Linked DNA regions of Homo sapiens: all the other regions are linked to region 1. The links are contacts of gene promoters, found by promoter capture Hi-C in human tissues and cell types (Jung and others, 2019). All regions are on one chromosome and are shown on one strand. The core of a region is centred on a gene start or on the middle of the fragment in contact, and the rest is flanking DNA. Distances in the headings are between cores, read along the strand shown. Region 1 holds the start of ISM1 (isthmin 1). Region 2 overlaps TASP1 (taspase 1). Region 3 has its middle 27 kb from the start of TASP1.

The links. The method cuts DNA at HindIII sites, captures the fragments that hold promoters and counts their contacts. A contact is called where the count stands out against the background at its distance.
Region 2: a contact is called between a fragment that was not itself captured here and the fragment with the promoter of ISM1 in region 1, in 1 of the 25 tissues and cell types used here (small bowel).
Region 3: a contact is called between a fragment that was not itself captured here and the fragment with the promoter of ISM1 in region 1, in 1 of the 25 tissues and cell types used here (dorsolateral prefrontal cortex).

Annotation. Positions count from the first base shown.
Region 1 is chr20:13,219,207-13,223,614 of GRCh38, reverse strand. ISM1 (isthmin 1) reads right to left here and starts at 2,341. Exons shown (of 6, transcript NM_080826.2): 1 at 1,701-2,341. The coding sequence starts at 1,838. It also overlaps a transcript of TASP1 not described here. RefSeq lists silencers at 1,910-1,979, 2,439-2,558. The HindIII fragment of the contact is 10,397 bases long and covers 1-4,408 here.
Region 2 is chr20:13,585,027-13,589,200 of GRCh38, reverse strand. TASP1 (taspase 1) reads left to right here. Exons shown (of 14, transcript NM_017714.3): 5 at 1,831-1,951. Among named protein-coding and RNA genes, the nearest start is that of TASP1, 52 kb to the left of the region's middle. The HindIII fragment of the contact is 5,249 bases long and covers 159-4,174 here.
Region 3 is chr20:13,663,933-13,668,366 of GRCh38, reverse strand. No RefSeq gene overlaps it. Among named protein-coding and RNA genes, the nearest start is that of TASP1, 27 kb to the right of the region's middle. The HindIII fragment of the contact is 7,451 bases long and covers 1-4,434 here.

The sequences.
Region 1 (4,408 bases), core at 1,092-3,591:
AACTTTAAGCTTTGGGGTGTGTACTTTTCTACTGTTTTGTAATTGCGTGCAATAATCACCTTGCTTTAGTCTATCCTGGTAGAGACAAAATTTGGTGTAATCAAGAGTTTGGAATGTCTGAACTTTGACAAGTTTTTTAACCTCTCTGTACCTCAGTTTTTGCATCTGTAAATGAGGCTATATTAACAGTACCATGTCTTGTAAGATTATGGTTAAATTAAGTGAGTTAAATTCTGTAAAGTACTTAAAACGGTGGCACGTAGTAAACACAATGGAAGTGTTTTATTAGTTTTCTCTTTACGGTAAAGTTTTTCGCAATAAATTGTATAAAGATGTAAAAAGTGAATTATCAAAGACAATGAATATAAAGGCCTTTGGGAACAATGAATAATGCTTATTTCATTTTATTTATTTATTTATTTATTTTATTTTATTTTATTTTATTTTATTTTTTTTTTGAGACGGAGTCTCGCTCTGTCGCCCAGGCTGGAGTGCAGTGGCGCGATCTCAGCTCACTACAACCTCCCGGGTTCAAGCAATTCTCCTGCCTCAGCCTCCCGAGTAACTGGGACTACAGGCGTGCGCCACCACGCCCAGCTAATTTTTGTATTTTTAGTAGAGACGGGGTTTCACCATGTCGGCCAGGATAGTCTCCAACACCTGGCCTGAGGTGATCCACCCGCCTCTGCCTGCTAAAGTGCTGGGATCACAGGCGTGAGCCACCGCGCCTGGTTTGAGCAGATTTTAGGAGCCAGAGAATCCCCTCTGCCTCCTGGGAAAATCCCTGCTTGCTTTTGCCTATGCTCCAAGTTTACAGTTGTCCCACCCCTAGACTCAAGGAAAGGCGCTAACATAGCGGCAGGAAATGCCTAGCTGGGCAATTCTATTCCTAAGTCAGAACTCACATTATGTCTGACCGTCCACTACGCCCTCTCCTTGCCCTGAAGTTGAAATGGATAAACAGAATCCCATTGCTAAAGCGACCTTCAACGGGGAAGATCCTTGGGAGAAAGACTTTGCTACAAGTTTAAAAGCCCCAGGTAACCCTGGCCCAAATCACTACCGGTGCCTTCACTCTGCACCTTCCCCATGACCAAGGGGGCACAAGGGGGGAGGGGGGAACCTCAGGCGAGGCTCCCGGAGGAAGAGGAACACTGGAAGCAAGGGAACCCTGAGGGTGAGGAGGGGATGCCTGGCTATTCTCCTTGGGAAATTATGTCCTGACCTTTGGCATTGCTTCCTAAAGGGGTAGACTCCCGGAGTTCTTTCTCCCAAAGACTTCAGGGATATCATCCTATAAAGTCTCCTTGCGTCCCTCCAGCCTCGAGTAACATTACTCAGCCTCCGAAGGGCAACGAAAGACTGGTAGCACCCCCAAGCAAGCACATTCTCCACACTTCCTCTGCTCATCCCAAACCTCGCTCCTTCCCACCTCCCCACCAACCCCGCACCTGACCCGTGACAGACAGAACTGAAGGAGCGCAGCCCGCAGACCTGGAAGCCGGGTGCAGCCTCCAGGCACGTGCCCCCGCTCCGCCTCTGCCTAAGTCAAGTGGCCCGGGCAAAACTACTGCCAAAACAGTTGCTCTTAGGTGGGGCAGGGGACCTGCCTCCCTGCATCCACCCGGCACTAGCTCAGCACCCCCGCCCCACAAACCGTCCCCGCAGCCGCGCACGGCCCTCTCCGGCGGCGCACTCACCTGCAGCTGGGCTTGGCTGGCGTTGCCCGCGGCCGCGTCGGGCCCGTCGGCGGCTCCCGAGCCGCGCAGCACGGTGATGTGCAGCGTGAGCAGCAGCAGCCCCAGCAGCAGCAGCAGCTCGGCCGCCAGGCGCACCATCCTTTTGAGACGCGCGGCTTTAGGACCCGGCGCGGCGGCCGGCGGCGGCGGCGGTGACGCCGGGGGAGGAGGAGTAGGAGCCCGGGAGCCCGGCAGCGCGGCTCCCGCCTCGGCTCCCGCCAGGGCTCCGCTTCCCGGGCCCGCGGGGCTGGCGCTGGGCGCGGCGGGGTGTGCGGGGCCGGGGGAGCAGGAGCTGCCGGCGCCGCCGCCGCCGCCGCCGCCGCACCACGGCGGAGCCACCGCGAGGCCGGGGGTGTCCAAGCCGGCTGCGGAGCAAGCCCCGGCGCTGCCTGGCGGCGGCGGCGGCGGAGACGGAGACTGGGTCCCGGGACAGCCCGGGACCCGGGCCGGGCCGGAGGCCACCCTGCTGGCAGGGGGCTGCGGGGTCGGCGGCGGGGCGGGCGCAGCCGAGCCCCCGAGCGCACATGGGCGCCCCAGATGTGGCCGCGGCGCCGCAGCTGGAGCGGGAGCGGCCGCCAGAGAAGCGCGGGGAGGAGGAGGAGGAGAAGGAGAAGGAGGAGGAGGAGGAGGAGGAGGAGGAGGAGGAGGAGGAGGAGTAGGAGGGCTTCAGCTGCGGCCGGGAGTTACCTCCACGCTTGGCGCCCCCGCCCTCGCCGCCCCGAGCCACTCACCCGGCAAGCCACCTCCACTACTCTCCGCGCTCCTCGGGGCCGCCTGCCGCGCCGCCCCGCACTCGGAGTCCCGGGGAGGGCCGGTTCCAGATGGGGGCCCCGGGCACACCGAGGTTGTCACGGTTTGGCGGTAGCCGGGGCGCCCTCGGCGGCAGCGTCAGCCTGCCGGGCTGTACCAAGTGCCCGCTGCCGAGGTCGCTGTGACGGGCGCGGGTAGAGCCCTTGTGCACACTGAGGCTCGGGGCTGTGGGTGGGTGGGGTGGTGCCTGGGCTGCTTTAGAAACCTTTATTGGCAAACTGGAGCTGGAGTTGCAGTGATGGAAAACGGAGGGGGCGCCGGACAAGCCATGCGTCTGCCTGCGACCCCTGCCTGAAGCAGTCGGGGGAGAGGAGGAGTGCCAAAGTGTCGTTCCGAAGGGTCTTGACACTTGCTGGGCCGCCCGCTAGCCGGGCACGGCTGTTCGCGGATCCGCGGCGCCCCGTAGAGCCTGGGAAGGGAGGGGAGTCCGACTCTCTAGGCGTTCGTCTGGTCACGGGCGCAGGTGTTGGCTGGAAGCTGCAGAGACGCAGTGCCCGCGGCTCAGGCGCTCAGGAACTCGGAGTGAATCTCAGCTCTAGTGGGCTTGCCTCTGTGGGGGGCTCATCCCGGGGGTGCCGCGCCCAGAGGGGATTTGGGGGCTGGCGTCGCGCAGCTGTCGATCCCGGGCCACCGCCTCATGACCGCGCTGCAGCCTCGGGCTCCCGCGTGCGGCTCATGCCTTGCAGTGGGCGGTTGGCGAATGGAAGGGCTCTGGGATCCGGCTGAGGGCGCGGAGTCCGAGCGTCAGATGCTAGAGCGAACTGTGTCGGTCCGTGGCACCGCGCACTTCCCTCCTTGACCTTGCTCGGGCTCCCGCCTTACCGAAGTGACTCGGAGTAGCGGACGCTCAGTCCGGCCGGGACTTTTATACTGCGCTTCCCCTCCTCCTACCCGTTCCCTCCCTTCCTCCTCCCCAGCGCCGGCCCAGCCCTTCCCTCCCAGCGAGCCAAGACCTAGTCCACGCGTTCGCACACAGCCGCGTCGCACATTTCCAAGCCTTTCCCGCGTCCCGGACCCCAGTGCCTCCGGGATGGAGCCTCCGAATTCTCCCTTGGTGAATGAAATTAAATAAATAATCAACTCTTTCTTGACGGCACGCCTCCCTTTCCCCCTCCCCAATTTCCTACCTTCCTTCTCCGCGTCCTAGAAAGATTTAAGATTCTTAATTCAACTGCTTTCGAGTTCTCGCAAGGCATCTCAACCAAGTATTAACCAAATTAAGGCAAACCCTTGCGCCTTTGCGAAGGTTCCTCCGGTCACCGCGGTACTTTGCAGAATTTAAATAGCGGTAGTTAAGGTAGGGTCTGCTGGTTGGGCTTATTTGTGCCCGGGAGAGGAAGGGCTTGCTGCCTCCTTAAAGATGCCTGAAGCATCTTTAAAATTCTAACTAACTCCAGCATCTTATTAATAAATTGGCAGCTGTTTATAGAGTCTGCTATATTTTTTCCTTTTCATTATTTTTTTTTGGGTGGGGAACGGTGCGAGGGAGGAGGGGAGATGTTTGGAGGGGTGCTTGCTTTGGATTTTTAGGCAGCCGGGCCTGTCAGACATCTTATTTCTATCTCTAGGCTCTAAAATGCCAATAATTGTCACTGGAGTGCGGGTCGGGGGGAGTGGGGGGAAACGCGAAACAATAACCGTCCGTATTTCAGATGGGAGATCAAAGAGGGGATCCCAGCAGCTTTTAAATCCTGGAAGGATCCTCCTGTGTGTTTTCTAATTAGGATCACTTAAAAGGGAAAGGGCTGGAGAATCAGCGCCGAAATAGAATGTATAAATTAAGATGGCAAACTAGAATCCCACAGCCAAAGAGTTTTAAGGATTGTTCTAACCTCCAGTTGTGCCAGATTATGATACGG
Region 2 (4,174 bases), core at 1,534-4,033, 370 kb before region 1:
CTGTAGTCCCACCTACTCAAGAGGCTGAGGCAGGAGAATGGCGTGAACCCAGGAGGCAGAGCTCGCAGTGAGCCGAGATCACACCACTGCACTCCAGCCTGCGCAACAGAGCAAGACTCCATCTCAAAAAAAAAAAAAAAAAACCCACGAAAGACTATACCTTCTTTATTGAATTGTTGTGGCAACCTTGTTGAATTGATTATAAGGGTGTATTATTTCTGGATTCTCATTTCTATTATATCAATTTATATATCTATCCTTAGCTATATGTCTATATTACACTGTCTTGATTACTGTAGTTTTGTAGTAAGTATGAGTCCTTCAGTTCTGTTCTTTTCAAGATTGTTTTGGTTATTCTGCGTCTCTTGCATTTCCATATGAATTTTAGGATCAGCCTGTCAGTTTCTGCCAAAAAAAGTAGCTAGGATTTGATAAAGGATTATTTTGAATTAGATTGATTTGGGGAGTATTGCCATTGTAACAACATTAAGCCTTCTGGTCCACGTACATAGAATGTTTTCCACCTATTTAGGTATTGAATTAAAAATTTTTTCAATGTGTTTTACAGTTTTTAGCATACAAGTCTTATACTTCTTTTAAAAATGTATTTCTGTTTTTTTGTTTTTGATGTTATTGTGAGATTTTCTTGATTTCATTTTTAGATTGTTTATCGCTAATATATAAAAATCCAATTGATTTTTGCACATTAATCTCATATCCTGCAACCTTCCTAAACTTATTAATTCTAATTTTTTTTTAGTGGATTCTTTAGGATTTTCTACATACAGCGTCATGTTATCTTGAAACAGACAATTTTACTTCTTCTTTTCCAATCTAGACCTACCTACCTACCTTCCTTCCTTCCTTCCTTCCTTCCTTCCTTTTCTTTCTCTTCCTTCCTTCCTTCCTTCCTTCCTTCCTTCCTTCCTTCCTTCCTTCCTTCCTTCCTTTCTTCCTTTCTTTCTTTCTCCTTTTTGTCTAATTGTCTGGTTAGATTGTACAGTATATTGGTGAATAGGTACTGAGAGTGGATATCCTTGTCTTGTTCCTGATCTTAGGGGAAGGCATCCAGTCTTTCACCATTAATTATAATGTTAACTCTGGACTTTTTTTTTGGCGTAATTATGGTTTGCTGGAGCCTCAATCTCCTAGGCTTCAGTGATCTCCAACCTCAGCCTCCCGAGCAGCTGGCACCACAGATGCATACCACCACACCTGGCTAAGTTTTAAATTTTTTTGTATAGATGGTGTCTCACTGTGTTGCCCAGAGTGGTCTTGAACAGCTAGGCTCAAGTGATCCTTCCACCTTGGCCTCCCTAAGTGTTGGGATTACAGGTGTGAGCCACTGCGCCTGGCCTGGCCTTTTCATTGATCCCCTTTGTCAAGTTAAGAAGTTCCCTTATCTAGTTTTCTGTTTTTCTCATGAAAGGGTGTTGGATTTTGTCAGATGCCTTTTTTCTGTGTTTTTTTTTTGATACAATCATGTTTTTTTCCCTGTATTTTATTAATACAGGGTATTACATTGATTTTCAGATATTAAACCAATCTTACTTTCCTCTTGTTTGTGATATACAGTCCTTTTTATATTTTGCTGGATTTGTTTTGCTGCTATTTCTTTGATGTTTTTTTGGTCAATATTTACAAAGTATATTGATCTGTACTTTGCTGCTGATATCTTTGTCATGTTTTAACATCAGGGTGGTATTGGCATCATACTATGTGTTGGAAAGTATTCTCTCACCTTCTAGCTTTTAGAAAATTTCATGAAGGACTGACATTAATACTTTTTTTAAGACTAATGATATTTTAATTTTTGTTTTTGTCTTTTAGGATTCTCCTTTTACAAATGCAGGAATGGGATCTAATCTAAATCTGTTAGGTGAAATTGAGTGTGATGCCAGCATAATGGATGGAAAATCCTTAAATTTTGGAGCAGTTGGAGCACTGAGTGGTATGTGGGCATTATGACCTACTATCTTTGGAAAATCATGCACGTGACCATTTCATGCCTTCTAAAGATGATTACAGTCTTTTTCACCATTTCTGCTTGGAATAGTGTTTAAAACAAATGTTCTTTTTTTATTGAATTTAAAACATACAGTCTTAGTTATAAGTAGTTTTTGGTTTGAATTTGATCATTCTCCTGTATCCCTTGAAGAGATTAAAGACATTTAAGACATGATTTAGAATATTAATTTTACAATTTGAAATACACACTATATTTTTTGTTGTAAAAAATTTCAGGTAATATAAATAAAATTTACCTTTGATCCTCCAAAAGATCTTTTCTTTCTCATTTCCTTTCCCCGTGGGGTTTAACCAGTAAAAATCCAGTGCTTTTATCTATATTTTTATGTAACAGAAACACAGTTTTATTTTGTGCCTGTATTTGTTTTCTTAAAAAATAAATGTGTTAATTATTATAAACTTTTTAGATTTAAATATAATCTTTTGGAGATTTTTTCCACATCAGTACATAAAAGATATGTCTCATGTTTTATAATTCATTTATTAAAGCAAAATATACATGAAGTATGTATTTTATGTGTACAGCTTCATGAATTTTTAGATGTAGACACCATATAAGCCACCACCTAGATCAAGACATTAAACATTTCCATGTCAAAAGGTAGAACATTTTCATAATCCTGGAAGGACCCCTTATGCTTCTCCTTGGTCCATACTTCTTGTGCTCTCTTCCCTCATGCTAACTTTGGGTGCCATAGATTAATTTGCCTGTTCCTAAAATTTACATGAGTGGGATCAGACACTTCTGTGTCTGTTTTCTTTTGCTTAATGTTATGCCTGTGAGATGGATCCATGTTTTGTGTCAGTAGTATTTTATTTTTTACCACTTAGTAGTATTTCATTGAATGGATATACCATAACTTCTGTATTTACTCTCCTCTTAATGGGCATATGAAATTTCTAGCTTTTTACTTTTTTGAGTAAAGCTTCAGTGAATATTATTTTACATGTCTTTTGGTAGACATATGTACTTCTGTTTTTTTTTTTTTTTTTTTTTTGAGATGGAGTCTCATTCTGTTACCCAGCCTGGAGTGCAGTGGTGCGGAGTCTCATTCTGTTACCCAGCCTGGAGTGCAGTGGTGCGATCTCGGCTCACTGCAACCTCTGCCTCCTGGGTTCAATTGATTCTTCTGCCTCAGCCTCCCAAGTAGCTGGGATTACAGGCACCCACCACAGTGCCTGGCTAATTTTTGCATTTTTAGTAGAAACAGGGTTTCACCATGTTGGCCAGGCTGGTCTTGAACTCCTGACCTCAAGTGATCTGCCAGCTTCAGCCTCCCAAAGTGCTGAGATTATAGGCGTGAGCCACTGTGCCTGGCCACGTATGTACTTCTTTAGGTACATATGCATATATATTTTGTTTTAATAGATACTGCCGGTTTTCAAAAGTAATTGTTGCAGTTTATACTCCTACTAGCAGTGTAGGAGCTTTTCAGTTACTCTGCATCCTTGCCAATTTTTGGTATTGTTAATTGTTTTTAAAATTCAGCCATTTTGATATGTGTGTAGTGGTATTATTGAGTGTCCCTAGTGATTTATGTGTGTAGTGGTATTCAATTTGAGTGTCCCTAGTGACTTATAAGAGCCTTTTCATATGCTTTTTGACCATTTAGATAGCCTTGTTGAGAAGTGCATATTTGCATCTTTTGCAGATTTTTATTTGATTATATCTTTTATTGATTTGTTGGAGTATTTTAAATATTTTACATACAAATCCTTTGTAAGATACATGTATTATGGATATCTTCTCCCAGTCTATGGTTTGCCTTTACAATCTCTTAATGGTGTTTTTTGATGAATAGAAGTTTCTGATTTTAATGAAGTTTAAGTTAGCAACCTTTTCTTTTGTGATTAACTCTTTGTATTTTAAGTTTTTGCCTGTTCAAAGTTATGAAGATAATCTTCATTCTTTCTGTAATTTTATTGTTTTTATCCATCATGTTTAGCTTTCTTATCAAGCTCAGATTAATTTTTGTATATGTAACATAGGGGTCAACATTTATTTATTTTTTCCTCATATGGATATCCAAATGGTCCATTGCCCTCTATTGAAAGGAAGTCTTTTCCTCACAGAATTGTGTTGGGAAATTAGGTGACTGTGTGATAATTTGTTTCTGTACCCTGTTATGGCTGCTTTCAAAAATGA
Region 3 (4,434 bases), core at 193-2,692, 450 kb before region 1:
TTAAGGTAGGCTAAGCTATGAGATTTTGTAGGTTGGATGTATTAAATGCATTTTTGACTTACGATAAACTATTCTGGGTTTATCAAGACATAACCTCATCATAAGTTGAGGAACACCTGTATATGTTGTCCACAAGAAACCCATTTAGAATATAAAGACACATATAGATTAAAAGTAAAGAGATGGAAAAAGATATGCTATGCTAGCATTAATCATAAAAAATGGGAATAGGCCAGATGCAGTGGCTCACACCTGTAATCCCAGCACTTTGGGAGGCCGAGGTGGGTGGATCACACGGTCAAGAGATGGAGGCCAACATGGTGAAACCTTGCTCTACTAAAATTACAAAAATTAGCTGGGCATGGTGGCTGGACGTCTGTAGTCCCAGCTACTTGGGAGGCCGAGGCAGGAAAATCACTTGAACCCGGAAGGCGGAGGTTGCGGTGAGTCAAGATCATGCCACTGCACTCCAGCCTGGCGACAGAGCAAGACTCCATCTAAAAAAAAAAAAAAGTGGGAATAACTATATTAATTTCAGACAGAGCAGATTTCAGAGCAAGGAAAGTTATCAAAGATAAAGAGGGGTACTACACAATGATAAAAGGTGAATACACCAAGAAGACAAACCAGTCCTTAATGTGTATGAACCTAATAACAGAGCATCAAAATATGTGAGGCAAAAACTGATAGAACAGCAAGGAAATAGATGAATCCACTATTACAGTTGGAGGCTCCAACATCCCTCCATCATAAATAAACAGATTCAACAGGCAGAAAATCAATAAGGACTTAGTTGAACTGAACAGCACCATCAATGAACTGGATATAGTTGACCTCTATAGGTTAATTTATCCAACAATTGTAGATTACATATTTTTTTACAGGTTCAAATGGAGCATTCACCAAGATAAACCACATTCTGGGCCATAAAACTTACATTAAAAAATGTAAAAAAAAATAAATTATGCAATGTTTATTCTCAAACTACAATGAAATTAAAACAGAAATTAAAAAAAAACACAGAAACATAAAAATATAAAAAACACTTGAAAAAACACAGGAAAGTTCAGGCACGGTGGCTGACGCCTGTAATCCCAGCACTTTGGGAGGCCGAGGTGAGTGGATCACTTGAGGTCAGGAGTTTGAGACCAGCCTGGCCAACATGGTGAAACACCGTCTCTACTAAAAATACAAAAATTAGTCAGGCATGGTGGCATGCACCTGTAGTCTCAGCTACTCGGGAGGCTGAGGCAGGAGAATCTCTTGAACCTGGGAGGCAGAGGTTGCAGTGAGCTGAGATCATGCCACTGCACTCCACCCTGGGCAACAGAACAAGACTCTGTCTCAAAAAAGAAAAAAAAAGAAAGAAAAAGAAAAAAGAAAAAAAACGAAGGAAAATAAAAGAACACTTGAAGATTTAATAACACACTTTTAGGTCAAAGAGGAATCCTCAAGAGAAATTTTAAAATATTTTGAACTAAATTAAAATACAACTTTTTTTTTTCTTTTGAGATGGAGTCACCCAGGCTGGAGTGCAGTGGCACAATCTCAGCTCACTGCAACCTCCGCCTCCTGGGTTCAAGCGATTCTCCTGCCTCAGCCTCCCGAGTATCTGGGATTACAGGCACCTGCCACCACGTCCAGCTAATTTTTGTATTTTTAGTATAGATGGGGTTTATCCATGTTGATCAGGCTGGTCTCGAACTCCTGACCTCAGGTGATCCGCCCGCCTCGGCCTCCCAAAGTGCTAGGATTACACGCATGAGCCACCACGCTTGGCCAAAAATACAACTTATAAAAGTTTTCAGGACGCAGTGAAGGCAGTACTTGGAGGGAAATTTATATCATTAAATGAATATATTTGAAAAGAAGGATCTTAAATCAGTCATCCAAGCTTCCACTTTAGGAAACTACAAAAATAAGAGCAATTGAATCCACAGTAACCAGTAGAATAGACAGAATGTATACCTTATCTCATTTGTCTTTGAACTTGGCCATGTAATTCACTTTAAACAACGGAATGTCATCAGATATATGAGCAGAGGTTGTAAGTGTGCTTGTGTGGTTTGGCGTGGCCTCTCGTGCTTTTGCCATCTTCATAAGTGTGCCCTTAGTAGCTGCTCTTTCTAGAATGAAAGACATTTGGAGCAGTCGTAAACCGGATCTTCCATCTGGAGCCAAGCCCAGCCAACTCACAACCTGAAGCAGAACTTCCCCAGCCAGCCTGAAGACCTATGATTGAGGAAAATAAGTGTCATTACAAGCCACTGAAATCTGTTTATGTATTTAGCTTGTTATACAGCATTATTTCAACAATAGCTGGCCTCTTGTCTTTATATTCCCAGTAATGAACACGTTTTTTAGTTTTACCTCTAAAATTTACCATTGCGCAAATTTTGGTGGGAGGAAGTCCTCTCAGACCCTTCCCCTTCCCAATAGCAATATCAGTCATGTGATCTGATTCAACCAATCAGGTGCTGTCTTCTCCCAAAACCTTGAATCTGGAACAAATGATACAGACATGAGGGGACAGTTAGAATTCATTTATTTGGTGGTAGCAAGAAGTATCCAGTGGGAATGACAGCATAACCAGACTCTTCCTGGGGTAAGATTTTTATTACAATTTTGCAAGTCTAGCCTTCATTGGTTGTGGCCCATTTTCCAGCCATATCATCAATTCTGTGAGCAGCCAACTAATTTCTTTTCCAGTTCAGTTAAACACAATCCATTTCTGTTGTTTGCAATCAAGAGCCCTGACTGGTACAAACAGCTCATCTGAAATGAACATAGAAGCCTTTTACATTTATTTTGAAGGTTCTAAAAATCTCTAGAGCTAAGAGAGCTTTTTTTTCTCCCTGAAAATGATTCATCATTTCTATGAAATGATACCAACTTACATCAAGAAAGAGTGTTGGCCGGGTGCAGTGCCTCACACCTGTAATCCCAGCACTTTGGGAGGCCGAGGCTGGTGGATCATCTGAAGTTAGGTGTTCAAGACCAGCCTGGCCAACATGGTGAAACCCCATCTCTACTAAAAATACAAAAATTAGCCGGGCGTGCTGGCTGGTGCCTGTAATCCCAGCTACTTGGGAGGCTGAGGCAGGAGAATCACTTGAACCTGAGAGGCAGAGGTTGCAGTGAGCCGAGATCATGCCATTGCGCTCCAGCCTGGGCAACAAGAGCAAAACTCTGTCTTAAAAAAAAAAAAAAGAAAGAAAGAAATAGTGTTAATTAAATCCATCATTTTGGAAAAATCTTTCTTCTTTAGATCTACATTAGCATATCTTTCTAGAAGGGACAAGATCTTTTAACATAAGAAATCTGGTATGCCTTCATTTTTTTTTTTTGCCTAGAGACTATAGTTCCAGAGAGAGAGAGAGAGAGAGAGAGAGAGAGAGAGAGAGGAGAGAAACAAGATACCAAGCACAATGGCTCATGCCTGTAAGTCCAACACTTTGATGGGTCAAGGTGGGAGGAGGGCTTGAAGCCAGGAGTTCAAGACCAGCCTGGGCAATATAGGGAGTCCCTGTATCTACAAAAAATTTTAAAAATTTAGCCGGGCACAGTGGCGTGTGTCTGCAGTCCCAGCTACTTGGGAGGCTGACGCTAGAGGATCCATAACAACAAACCCAAAAAGAAACAAGAGAGAAAAGAAAAGGAAGAAAGAAGAAGTCTGGAGTCTTTCTCTGGCAAATTGGAGGTAATAATAGTGTCTTTTGTGAATAAGACTCTTTCTACTCTAACTAGATTATTTCAGAATTGATAAACTTTCTTATTATGAAGGGTGAAAATTACTAATCCATATCTTATGAACTAAACTCAGCTTAGCCAAAATAAAAACCGGCCCTGAAAAGATATTATGGGAGAGAACAGTTGATGATTTGTAGGACTTGAGAGTTAGTGAAATAAACATCAAAAATATAAACGGAGCTGGGTGTGATGGTGTGCACCTGTAGTCCCAGCTACTTTGGAGGCTGAGGTGGGAGGATCGCTTGAGCCTGGGATGTCAGGCTGCAGTGAGCCAAGATTTCACCACTGCATTCCAGCCTGGGCAACACAGTGGCACACTGTCTCAAAAAGAATAATATTAATAATAATAATAAATAAAAATAAAATAGTCTGGGCGCGGTGGCTCATACCTGTAATCCTAGCACTTTGGGAGCCTGAGGCAGACGGATTGCTTGAGGCCAGGAGTTCCAGACCAGCCTGGGCAACACGGCCAAACCCCGTCTCTACTAAAATTACAAAAAATTAGCTGGATGAGGTGGCATGTGCCTGTAGTCCCAGCTACTCGGGAGGCTGAGGCATGAGAATTGCTTGAACTCAGGAGGCAGAGGTTGCAGTGAGCCAAGATTGTGCCATTGCACTCCAGCCTGGGCGACAGAGTGAGACTCTGTTTCAAAAAACAAAACAAAACAAAATAAAATAAAATAC